Linked DNA regions of Homo sapiens: region 2 is linked to region 1. Evidence: promoter capture Hi-C in 16 types of primary human blood cells and fetal thymus (Javierre and others, 2016). All regions are on one chromosome and are shown on one strand. The core of a region is centred on a gene start or on the middle of the fragment in contact, and the rest is flanking DNA. Distances in the headings are between cores, read along the strand shown. Region 1 holds the start of C5orf58 (chromosome 5 open reading frame 58). Region 2 holds the start of LOC100128059 (a long non-coding RNA gene).

Region 1 (5,336 bases), core at 804-3,303:
TAATATTTTTAATTACTTTGTCCACATTTAGCTTATGATCAGTAACACGCTTCTTACCCATCTGATTTTAAAAGAAAAACAGAAACAATGTATAAATCAGTATTTATGTGTACTTTTAAAATACTTACATTTTCAGTATTTCTATAAATCTGTTATTTCAGAAATAATTATGAAACAAATCTTTATAAATGGTTAGAATTCTAACATCAAAAGGCATTAATGTGTTATGTAATATTTTTCCAACTAAAAACTCCAACTGGAATTTGTAGGATGAGGTTCCTTCCTCAATCAAACCATATCCACAAGATAGGGCTTACAATGGAAATGAAGATGTCCCCTTTTCAGAAAGCCTCAGCCCTTATAAACTACCTTACAATTTAGCGTTTGTGTTAAGATCTTCTCTAATTTTGTTTATGTAAGTCCATGTCTTTTTCTAACTTATTCTTGAATAACAGGGCCCACATATGATTTAAGTACACAGTGAAACTCAAAAAAGAATTTTATTCTAATTCATTAAGAGGATAATTCAATTATAATCCACTAAGAGTATGGCAAATGGCTGGTTTGGTTTTGGGAGTTAGAGTAACAGACATTTTAATTTTGGTTAACTGAAATGTATAAATCAACGCATTCCTATGTTATACAGTACCTGTATTTAACCAATTGTGTCAGATACAAATATACAGAGAGGTGGTTCACTAGAAACTAGTCTTAAGCTGTTCAGTCTCTCAAAATGACTTGAAAAACTCCATCTCAATTAGCATACACAACTCCAGCAGTGTGAAAGGTGGGCAGTCATGGGTCAAGCTGCTTGTCCAAAATAATGAAAACAAACTAACCTTTAAGTCAATCCTTGCCTCTACCTTTTCCTGAGCAGGGAGAATTTCTGCAATTTCTCTCATTTCAGAGCCACTGTAAAAAAACTAATTTTGTTTCCCAGACATTAATAAAATGCGCTTTGCATCTACCCCCAAGACCCCATTCTCCAGGATGTCAGCTGCCTTCCTTGGGCATGCCAAACCAAGAGTCAAGTTGCAGGGAAAAAGAAAGATGATATTTTAACAAGGGGTGGAGTGGTGGAATTAAAGAACTTCAAAAACAAGGCAAAAGTTTTTTAAAAATAGTAAAGTAGAAACTAAATGATTTTAGAGCCCAAGACAGTGGCCTCTCTCCACTCTGGTTCTCCTAGGCCCTCGAGCACCCAGCGCGTGGGTGGGGTGAGGGCACAGTGGGGTGCTACACAACAATGTAGCTGGGACTGGACTGGAGGCAGGACAGGTCTGGGTCAAGCCCTCCCCGGGGAGCTCGGCCAGGCCACTACCCAGAAAGGAGAGGCTGCTCCAACAGCAATTCACCGGGAGTGGGGAAGCGGAGACCAGACTGTAGGGGCCATAGGAATGGGGGGTCAGAAGCCAGGATGTCGCTGACTCAAGGCCTGATACCACTAGAGCGCCATCTCCGGGCCACAGGACGCCGCCCAGGCCCTCAGCCCGCAGCCCTGCAGAGCCATCGTTAGCACCGCAGGTTCTACTCTGAAAGCCCAGCCTCCTCCTTGGCCCAACTGACACCTGGGAGGAGCCCCAGATCTTTAGGGCCCTCAGCGACCCAACTGCCCATGAAGACCCCCCAGATCTTTGGGGCCATGAGCGGCCCAACCACCCGCTCAACAGCTAAAGATGGAGCCTGAGGCATCTGGAAGTTTCCACAGTCCTCGCCCTCCCAGACAGGATTTGGAATGAACCTTTGGGGCTTACTAAGTTTCTTGCCAAGTGGACAGGATTAGGGTAATGTAAAATGCCCTCAGAGTGACCCCGGCCTACGGACAGCCACCAGCCGCCAGGCCCACCCAGCCAACCGTCCCCTTCTCGGCCCAACCGACACCCAGGGAGAGGCTCCGAGGCCAGCCCGGCCCACCGCCCACCCGTTGGGTGGTGGAAGGTGGAGCCTCGGGCAGCCTGGAAATTTCAGCGGTCTTCACCCTCCCAAACCAGATTAGGATCCTTCAAGACCGAGCAGCCGTCACTACCCACCTGGCCAACCGTCACCGAGGTTCTGACAGGAGCAGGGAGCCGACGGTGAAGGCGAAGCCGCGCCCCCTGATTGGCCAGCTTCTCCGCCTGCGGCATCCTGGGAGTTGTAGTCCCAGGCAAGGCCCCTACGGAGAAGGTTCTGGATGCCGGGTTACAACTGACTCGCGCGGCCACGTTGGCGGAAAAAGCACTGACATTCCTTACCCCCAGTGTGCCAGGCTTTTGCAACCCTTATCTGCATTTGAGTCGCACAGGATAGCGGTAGCGTTAAGTGCAGACTCTGGAATGAAGCCACTTGGGTTTGAATCCTATTCTATCACCTGCTTAGTTGTATAGATGCAGATAAGCGATTAACTATTCAGAGTGCAGATGTCCTCACCTATCGTATGGAACGATAATAACTGCCTTCCAGTGTTAGTTTGAGGGTTAAGTGAGATAATTCATCAGAGGTGCTTGGCAGATACCAAGTGCTCCATAACTGTTAGCTATTATTTTTCCTATAACATTTTATAGGAATGATAATAGTAAAGAGTAGCATGAATAAAGAGATGAGTTGAGACATGGAAAATGGTTTTTTGCCAAGCTGAGAAGCTGGGATTCGAGCCGTCTTTTGCTTGACTCCAGAGGAATCTCTGCCACTGCAACCTTTGAGGCAGGCCCAAAGATTTTTCTTGGTGCCCTGAGAAATTGAGGAGTTTAGGCTTTCAGCACAAGGTGCTATACAACAAGTCTTTGCGTCTATGCCTCCCCTATAGTACACACCAGCCTCTTGAACCATCACCTTCCTGAAAGCCCACATCACAATTGTTGGGTATTTTATATCCAATTTCCTTCACTTTAACACTGCAGAATTTGTTGTCGAATGCAATTACCTAGATGAGGAGGGACAGAGGAGAACAGAGCTTAATGATAACCAGCTGTATGATCTTAGAAAAGAATATCTTCCTTATTCTGAGTCTCTGTTTCCTTATCTGTTTTCTATTGAGAGGGATGGGCTAAACCAGTAGTTCCTAAATTGTACTAATTGCTGGGCCACTGTTAAGATTCTGTGCTTATGGCACTCATATTATTATTATCTTCTCCTAAACACCTTATTGTCTCCTGTGGTTAACTACAGGGAGTTTCTAAAGGTGAAGAAGTTTTTAATGATAACCAGCTTTGTAAAATACGAAGCTATATTATTGCCTTCATATTTTAAATCTACTTATTTTTAAAATTTAAGTCTACTTAAAAATCTTTATATCACCAGTGTTAAATAGAATAAAACGTAAAGTCAGGCCAGGCACGGTGGCTCGCCTGTAATCCCAGCACTTTGGGAGGCTGAGGTGGGTGAATCACGAGGTCAGGAGTTCGAGACCAGCCTGGCCAACATGGTGAAACCTCGTCTCTACTAAAAATACAAAAAATTAGCTGGACGTAGTGGTGGCCACCTGTAACCTCACCTACTCAGGAGGCTGAGGCAGGAGAATCGCTTGAACCCGGGAGGCAGAGGTTGCAGTGAGCCGAGATCGCACCACTGCACTCTAGTCCAGGTGACAGAGTGAGACTCCATCCCAAAACAAACAAACAAAACTCATAAAGTCATTGGAAAAATAAAGACAGTGAAAATAAGGCATATTTTAATCATGTATATACGCTCGCAACCAGTTGCAGTGTTTTCTGCAGCCTGATCTTTTTTGTTAAAATGGGTTCTTATTAAGTGTTAGAGAAGTGTTAAAGACAGTCTAGCACAAACCAAGACTTTCTTCTTGATATAATTAGAATGACTGAAAGAGTTAAAAGAGGAATACAAATACGGGGAGACCAACATAGGGTAAGCAACATTTATTTCTAAATTAGGACATTAATGTATAAAACCAAGCAAAAAGAACTGGCTTCATTGTATTATAAAAGCAAGGATAATTTAAAATCAAAACAGAAGGAAGAAAATAAAAGGAGGAGGGTCTTAACTTCAGAATAAGACTATCTTGACAGAAAGCTTACAGGATGTATCCTTTCTCCTCCTCACTTATTTTGATGATGAAGAAGTAAAAACTTCTTCACTTTTAGAAACTCCCTGTGGATAACTACAGGAGTAAATAAGGTGCTTAGGAGAAGTAGGTGGGTGGAGATAGCATTAAGACTGAGAATCCTGAAAATCAAGTGATGATGGGCACTGGGGTTGGTAGGCTGGAGTGTCCTATTGTCCCAAGCACACTGAACTCATTTTTGGGTTCCTCAATTGTTTGCAGGAGCTATCATAGCTCTACTACCTGTGAATTGCAATCCACAGGATTTTTGGCAGAATCTAAAGGCCTTGGATCCATCCAAAATGCTGACTGCTTCTTATGAATATATCAAAACTACTGCTATTTGGAATAGATCATCATTAAGCCATTAGTTATTCACAAAGAAAAATCAACTTTGTGTTCCTTTTAAATAAGTGTTCTAAGAGGAATAAAAGAGATTAAAAACTCAGAAAAAGATAGGTTTAGTAATGCATTTCTCTCTATAAAACTGTCTTGGAGCAGTGATGACTACTTATTGCACTGTTTTCTCTACTTAAATAACTATAGATTTTGTCTCTTTGTGTTTTTTTTTCCCTAATAAAATGAAAGTTTAAAAGCATGGTTTGCTACTCAGGGTTAGAGACTTACAGCTAAGGCCCTAAAACAAAATCTATCTTCTTTAATAAGTGTGAAAATACAACACTTTACTGGAACCCAACACAGATTGCAGTTGTTGATTCTAATGTTAATCAAACAAAAGGGATTTAAAAACTGGTAAATGCTCCCATAAATAGAAAAAGGTGCTGCAGACCAGCAAGGTGATCAAGCGTTTTATGGAGTTGAGTGTGTGCACCTCGGCTAATTTTATTACAGATTCTTGACATAAAGTCTTCATTTCCAGGAAAACAAATTGAGTAAATTATCTTACTTCTTCCACTAGATCTCAGGGTTCCCATTTTCCTCCTGTCTGTTCATTATCAATTAAGAGTGCTGGCCTCTGTGTCTAGGGACCAGCTCCCTGCTGGAGCATCAACTCCCTCCTGAACCTGACTTTGTACAACCCTGTGTGCACTAATTTGGGAGGCAGCAACATAAGCATGTGTTGGATCATTACCTGGGGAGCATGACCAGCATTTGAAAGATTAAGCAGATTCCTGTGTACCCGAACAACTATTGCGTTCACCAAAGCCAATCACTTAAAGGAAGCAAGAAGCAAGCTGACTTCTGCTACCCTGGTGTGAACTAAAAGCTTCAGTGTCTGCCCACTGTCTTCTTCGAGTAGCTGATGTTACATTATCCAGAGTCATTTTTTTTTCTT
Region 2 (5,336 bases), core at 2,090-4,589, 81 kb before region 1:
ATCTCCCTCGCCCAGGCTTGGTTTCACTCATATTTGCAGATAAAGGATGGACAACCAATAGCAAGTGAAAGCCTAAAGATGATTCATCTCAACCAAAGAGATGGTACCAAGAAGATGCGTCCTTTACATTGACACATCTGGAGCCATAATCTGCTGAGACTATCCTCAGGGTTCTTCCTACTCTGCGGGGACTCTCCCATTTCAGACCTCCATTCATCACCATCCTGGTTTTGGCCCAACTAAGATGAGCCACAGTTACTTTTGTTTATTTAGTATATTATTTTAATTCAATTTCTTTTCTCAACTTCAATAAAATCTTTTCCTCTTTCTGAGCAATAAGACACATGAAATAATAAATTAGATGAGCTTATTGTATTTTTCTAACACATAGCAATGTGTGTGTGTGTGTTATGCAAACTTACATTTGTAAAACATCTATATCCATCTGTGTTCTAACTCATATCACTTTGTGTGCCATACCTGGTGGAACTGTACTCAGGAATAAGCTGCCAGTCTTTGTTGACCTGGATTTGCCCATGTTGAATGCACAAGTCAGGAAATAAACTGGTGTGCAGGCCTCAGTGAGAAAACCAAACCAAAGAGGAGAAATCATCCCTTTTCTGAATATCAGGATTACAGACCTGGTCCAGCCCAGCCTTGACCGAGTATTCCTGGATACTTGAGTTCTCTAGGAGAGGAGTTTTTGCTCAAAAGCTCTAACCTCAAGCTTAACTTCTTTATCTGAAAACTGGGGTCAATAATTCCTAGAGATCAGACAGGTCCTTAGTTACAAACAGCAGAAACGGACTCTCCCTTAAATAACAAATGGGGCCCAGCACAGTGGCTCACGCCTGTAAACCCAGCACTTTGGGAGGCTGAGGTGGGTGAATCACTTGAGACCAGGAGTTCAAGGCCAGCCTGGCCAACATGGCAAAACTGCATCTCTACTAAAAATAAATAATAATAATAATGATAAAAAAGCCGTAAGTGGCAATGTGTGCCTGTAATCCCAACTACTTGCGAGACAGAGGCAGAAGAATTGCTTGAACCCGAGAGGTGGAGGTTGCGGTGAGCTGAAATGGCACCACTGCACTCCAGGCTGGGTGACAGAGTGAGACTCTGTCTCAAAAAAAAAAAAAAAAAAAAAAAAGGAATGTATTGAACACCTTTGAAGGCCAGGGCCTCACAGAATTGCTGGGAATGTGAACAGTCTTGGAAAGTGGAAAATGGTCAGCAGCCATGGAATCTCAGAGGGCCAGGCTGCAGAAATCACACCGCAGGTTCTCGCTGCAGGAGCCAGGTGATACACAGACAGGTGCTGGCTGCCAAGCCCCCAGCAGAGCCCACACCTTCACATGCTCAAGGCTCAGTGTCCTGGGACAGAGTGTCTGACAGACCAGATTAACTGAGGAATGGCTGGCTCTAAGGAAATGAACTCCTTTGGGGTCCACAGGTAATGCTCACTTGCCACTGTCATAACGTACTAAGAGGAAGGAGGGGGTGATGCCTGATCACCAAAAGTAGCAGCTGACCCCTAGACTGACCTTTCCAAGTTGCCTTGAGAATGAGAAATAATTTATACGAAGTGTCTGATAAAGTGCCTTTGTACAATTATTGTACCCAAATAATTAATTTCATGAACTGAGAAGATATACAGAAACCTTGAAGGAGAGGGAAAAATAGGTGCTCTAAATTAAGCATGCAATGCAATAGCAGTTATCTTCCTGGGAAGACTCCAAAGAGTCAGCATAGAACTGCATTTTAAAAGCTCCCTCTTCCAGACAAAGCTGCCAGTCATGAACACGTGGTGTCTGCCGACAAAGCCAGCCCCGTGGTCTGCTGTTGGAGCCAGCTCTTTTATTGCCAAAGGACATTTAAATGGAAAACAGCACATCTACCAGAATAAATGTGTCCTCAGGGAAGGAAGTGGAATTCTGGGCTATGCTGCCCCGACAACACCATGAACCAAAAATCTGACTTCATGGCCCCATTAGGGGCTGGTCTAGGGTGGAAAGAGAAATATAACGTCACAGCAGAAAGTTTGCAACTGAAGTTCATTTATTAAAAGACCTAAGACCATGTTCTCTTCTGGATATATAGTAGAAATGATGCTTTAGTTAATATTTTTAGTATTAATGGAATGAAATGAAATGGAATGGAATGAAACAAAATGTCATTCTTCTTCCTAGAAATCTCCAAATAGCCCATTTATGGTTACCTTCTGGCATGCCCAATACCAGTTTGCAGTTTTAGGCCCAGCCAGCTTAAGAATTACCTGAGGAGTCTGTTAATGGTGCGGACACCTGGGATCCCCAGGGTGGCCTGGAGATCTGAGCCAGGGGGACTCAGTGAAGCCCCAGGATTTGTGTTTTCCCTAAGCTCACCAGCCAGGGAACCTCTGCCCTGGTGGCTAAGCCTGGGTTTGCCTTTCCCTTGCCGTAGAGAAGGCTTGGTAGGACAAGCTCTGTGAAAATAAGCCCTGTTACACCAAATAAAATTTCACAGGGAATGTTAAGAAACACTGAATTATGAAACATAGAATATAGCAAACATTTAAGGAAATTAACTCATATGGGGATCTCTTCCCCTGGGCACAATTGTTACACTGGCTAGAAATCATTCTTAGCAGTTTAACAGGTCTCTTAAGGACCCCAACTAAACAAAAGGTTTGTTACATTGGCTCAAATTATTGTGCCTATTTAGTAACAATTCTGGCTAATGTGTCCCAAGGGCCCACTGGGTACCTGCTCTATGCTATAAGTTTTTGACACCCGATTCAATTTAAACCTCATCAGGATGGGACAGTATGATTCCATTTCACAGCTGAGAAAACTGAGGTTCAGCAAGATCTTGCCCAAGTCAAGGTCAGTATTCAAATCAAGGTCTGTGTGATCCCAGAGTCTATTAATCTCTGTGCTGTGTATAATAGGATCAGCATGGGATTTCTTCATTTATTGTTCTGTCCTACTGATATTCACACTGGCCACCCCTGGTATGAGCCAGATTTATTGAGGTTTCTCTGGGGCTTCTCTCAGGTGGGTAATGGAGCCAATTGCATGGCCTGCCATCCATCATTTCATGGAAAACAGGTTAAGAGGACACTAAGGCAGCTGTGACACGAGGAAATGTCACAAAATGACAACACATACCCTCATGGCCAACTGGCAGAAGCCAAAATGAAAACTGTGTGGAGAACAGTGGAGTGGGATGTAGCAAAATTACAGAAGTTCCTATCCTTGAGCTAGCAAACTGACATCTGGCAATTTATCCTAAAGAAGTAATCATGGCTGTGTGCAGTGGGTCAGCTAAAAGAATGCTCATTTCTGGGTTATAATAATGAAATTTCGAACCAATCTAAACCATAGGGAATTACTGAAATAAATTCTAGTACCTGCATACCATGGAGCACTCTGCAGCCGTTTCAAAGCTGCTTTGAGATGACATTCAGCCACATGGAAAGCTATTCATAATATGTTGCATATATGAAAACGGATTTAAAAAACCACAAAGAGGTATTAAATGAAACAAGCAGGAAGCCTCCGCACTTTGAATTCCTCCATAACAAATTACACCCTAACTTAGTATATAAACAAACTGAAACTTAGGAGAATACTTTTGGTAACAAATAGCTGGTTTCAGCCAATCACAAACAGCTGAGTTTCAGCCAATCACGGACAACCAATTCATCGCACCAGGCCCAAATAAGACAGATGTCTAGCTGTAGCCAATCAGGTGATTTATCTGCTTTGTTTCCATGTTCAGCCTATAAAAGCTCAGTGCTCATGCTCCTGGGCTCCCGGAACCTCTTCTGGTTCTGAGTGCTGTGGATTCGTGAATCATTCTTTGCTCAAATAAACTCTGTTAAATTTAATTTGGAAATTTAAAGTTTTCCTTTAACAGAGGTTATAAAGAATTCTATGAAGATGGTACTCTCATTTTGACAGTGAGAAAGATTTTTTTACTTGAAGAAAGGAAATACCAACATTTTAAGTGTCTAATGTTCATTATTCCTTTTCTTGCCTGTATTTTATTTATGTTTCCATGATGACTCTGTTTTACTTTTACAGGTAGAAAAAAATCCATAACTTTGTTCAAAGTAAGAAATGTTGGTCACAGACAACTTGAAGGGATTTGGATGGTGCATCTATATGAAACCATCTTCCCCCCACCCACTTCTTCTGGCTGTCTCACAGACCTCAGCCTTCTGCTGCAGTTCAGAGCTCCAGACAGTGCTAGTGATTCACTACATCCTAAACAGGGCTGTCTTAGAGTCTTCCTGGAAATGCAGAAATCCCCAGGCCATGCATGCCCCAAAGTGATGATGTCACAGGGAGTCTGGTTTCCCTGCTTGTCACTGAGCAATCCTAGGGTGCTCTCAACACATGCGCTTCTGATTCTCCAACCCTTGCTGCACCTACAGATCCCCAAGAGGAAGTTGAAGAGTCACCCAATCTGGAAGGATTCTCACGCCCTAGAGAGTCAGAAAAGGAAATGAACATGTGTTCTGCTTTCCCAGGGTCCATGGCAGGAGGGCTGCAGCGGCCTCATTTATTCATTTGTGCCAGGCACCCTGTTAATCATGGAGATACCACGCTGACCTGCCTTCAAGGAGACCATATTCTAGTAGGAGAGCTGAGCAGCGAGATGGCCATGTGTAGATGGTGCTATATGAAAGGTAAGCACAGCACACCCTGGAAGCACTTAGGAGGGACACTTCACCCATATTTGGAGGTTCTGAGAAGTTTTCCAAAGGACATAATGCTCAGCATTGATAGAAAAGAGAAGTAGGGAGTGGTCGTTGGCACAATCTCATAGAAGGAACAGGATAATGCTGGAAGATGCCTTTTCGCAATCTTCCATTCGTGGCTCACGAATAAGGGTGATTCTGCAGTCACTTACCAGATCAATAGGGTCTGAGGGCCCTGAGTCCTATTGTGGGGCCCCAGAACCCTGGTCAGTTGACCAGATAGAATCTGAGAAGAGCCAGATTCTATCTGGAATCCAGGAGCCCAGGGGAGGGAGGGTAAGCAAACTCAAAGCCAGGCGTCAGGTCTGACCAAGCCTCCAATCTGAAGGTGGCTGGGCAGAGAGGGAGAATCTGGGTGTGAGACTGTGGGTAGGGGTGGAGAGGGTGCAGCGGGAGGAAGAACCAGCTGCAGAGGGACAGCGGAGGGAGAGACAGAGGTGTGGCTTGGCAAAGTCCCCAGGAGAAGCCAGAGGTAGTTGCTGCTACTGCTGTCTGTCAGGGCTGGAATTGTTCTTTCATCCTCCTCAGCCTTTGGTGTCAGCAGGAGTAAACCACAAGCAGGCACAGAGGGAAAGAAGGGACAAGGATT

Evidence for each region. The method cuts DNA at HindIII sites, captures the fragments that hold promoters and counts their contacts. A CHiCAGO score of 5 or more calls a contact.
Region 2: a contact is called between a fragment that was not itself captured here and the fragment with the promoter of C5orf58 in region 1, in 1 of 17 cell types (non-activated CD4 T cells). The highest score is 5.1, in non-activated CD4 T cells.

Annotation. Positions count from the first base shown.
Region 1 is chr5:170,229,702-170,235,037 of GRCh38, reverse strand. It overlaps C5orf58 (chromosome 5 open reading frame 58), which reads right to left and starts at 2,053. Exons shown (of 4, transcript NM_001102609.3): 1 at 2,031-2,053; 2 at 840-923; 3 at 1-61. The coding sequence starts at 61. The HindIII fragment of the contact is 4,262 bases long and covers 1-4,010 here.
Region 2 is chr5:170,311,878-170,317,213 of GRCh38, reverse strand. It overlaps LOC100128059 (a long non-coding RNA gene), which reads left to right and starts at 4,498. Exons shown (of 2, transcript NR_147701.1): 1 at 4,498-4,675. RefSeq lists an enhancer at 4,529-4,578. The HindIII fragment of the contact is 5,220 bases long and covers 730-5,336 here.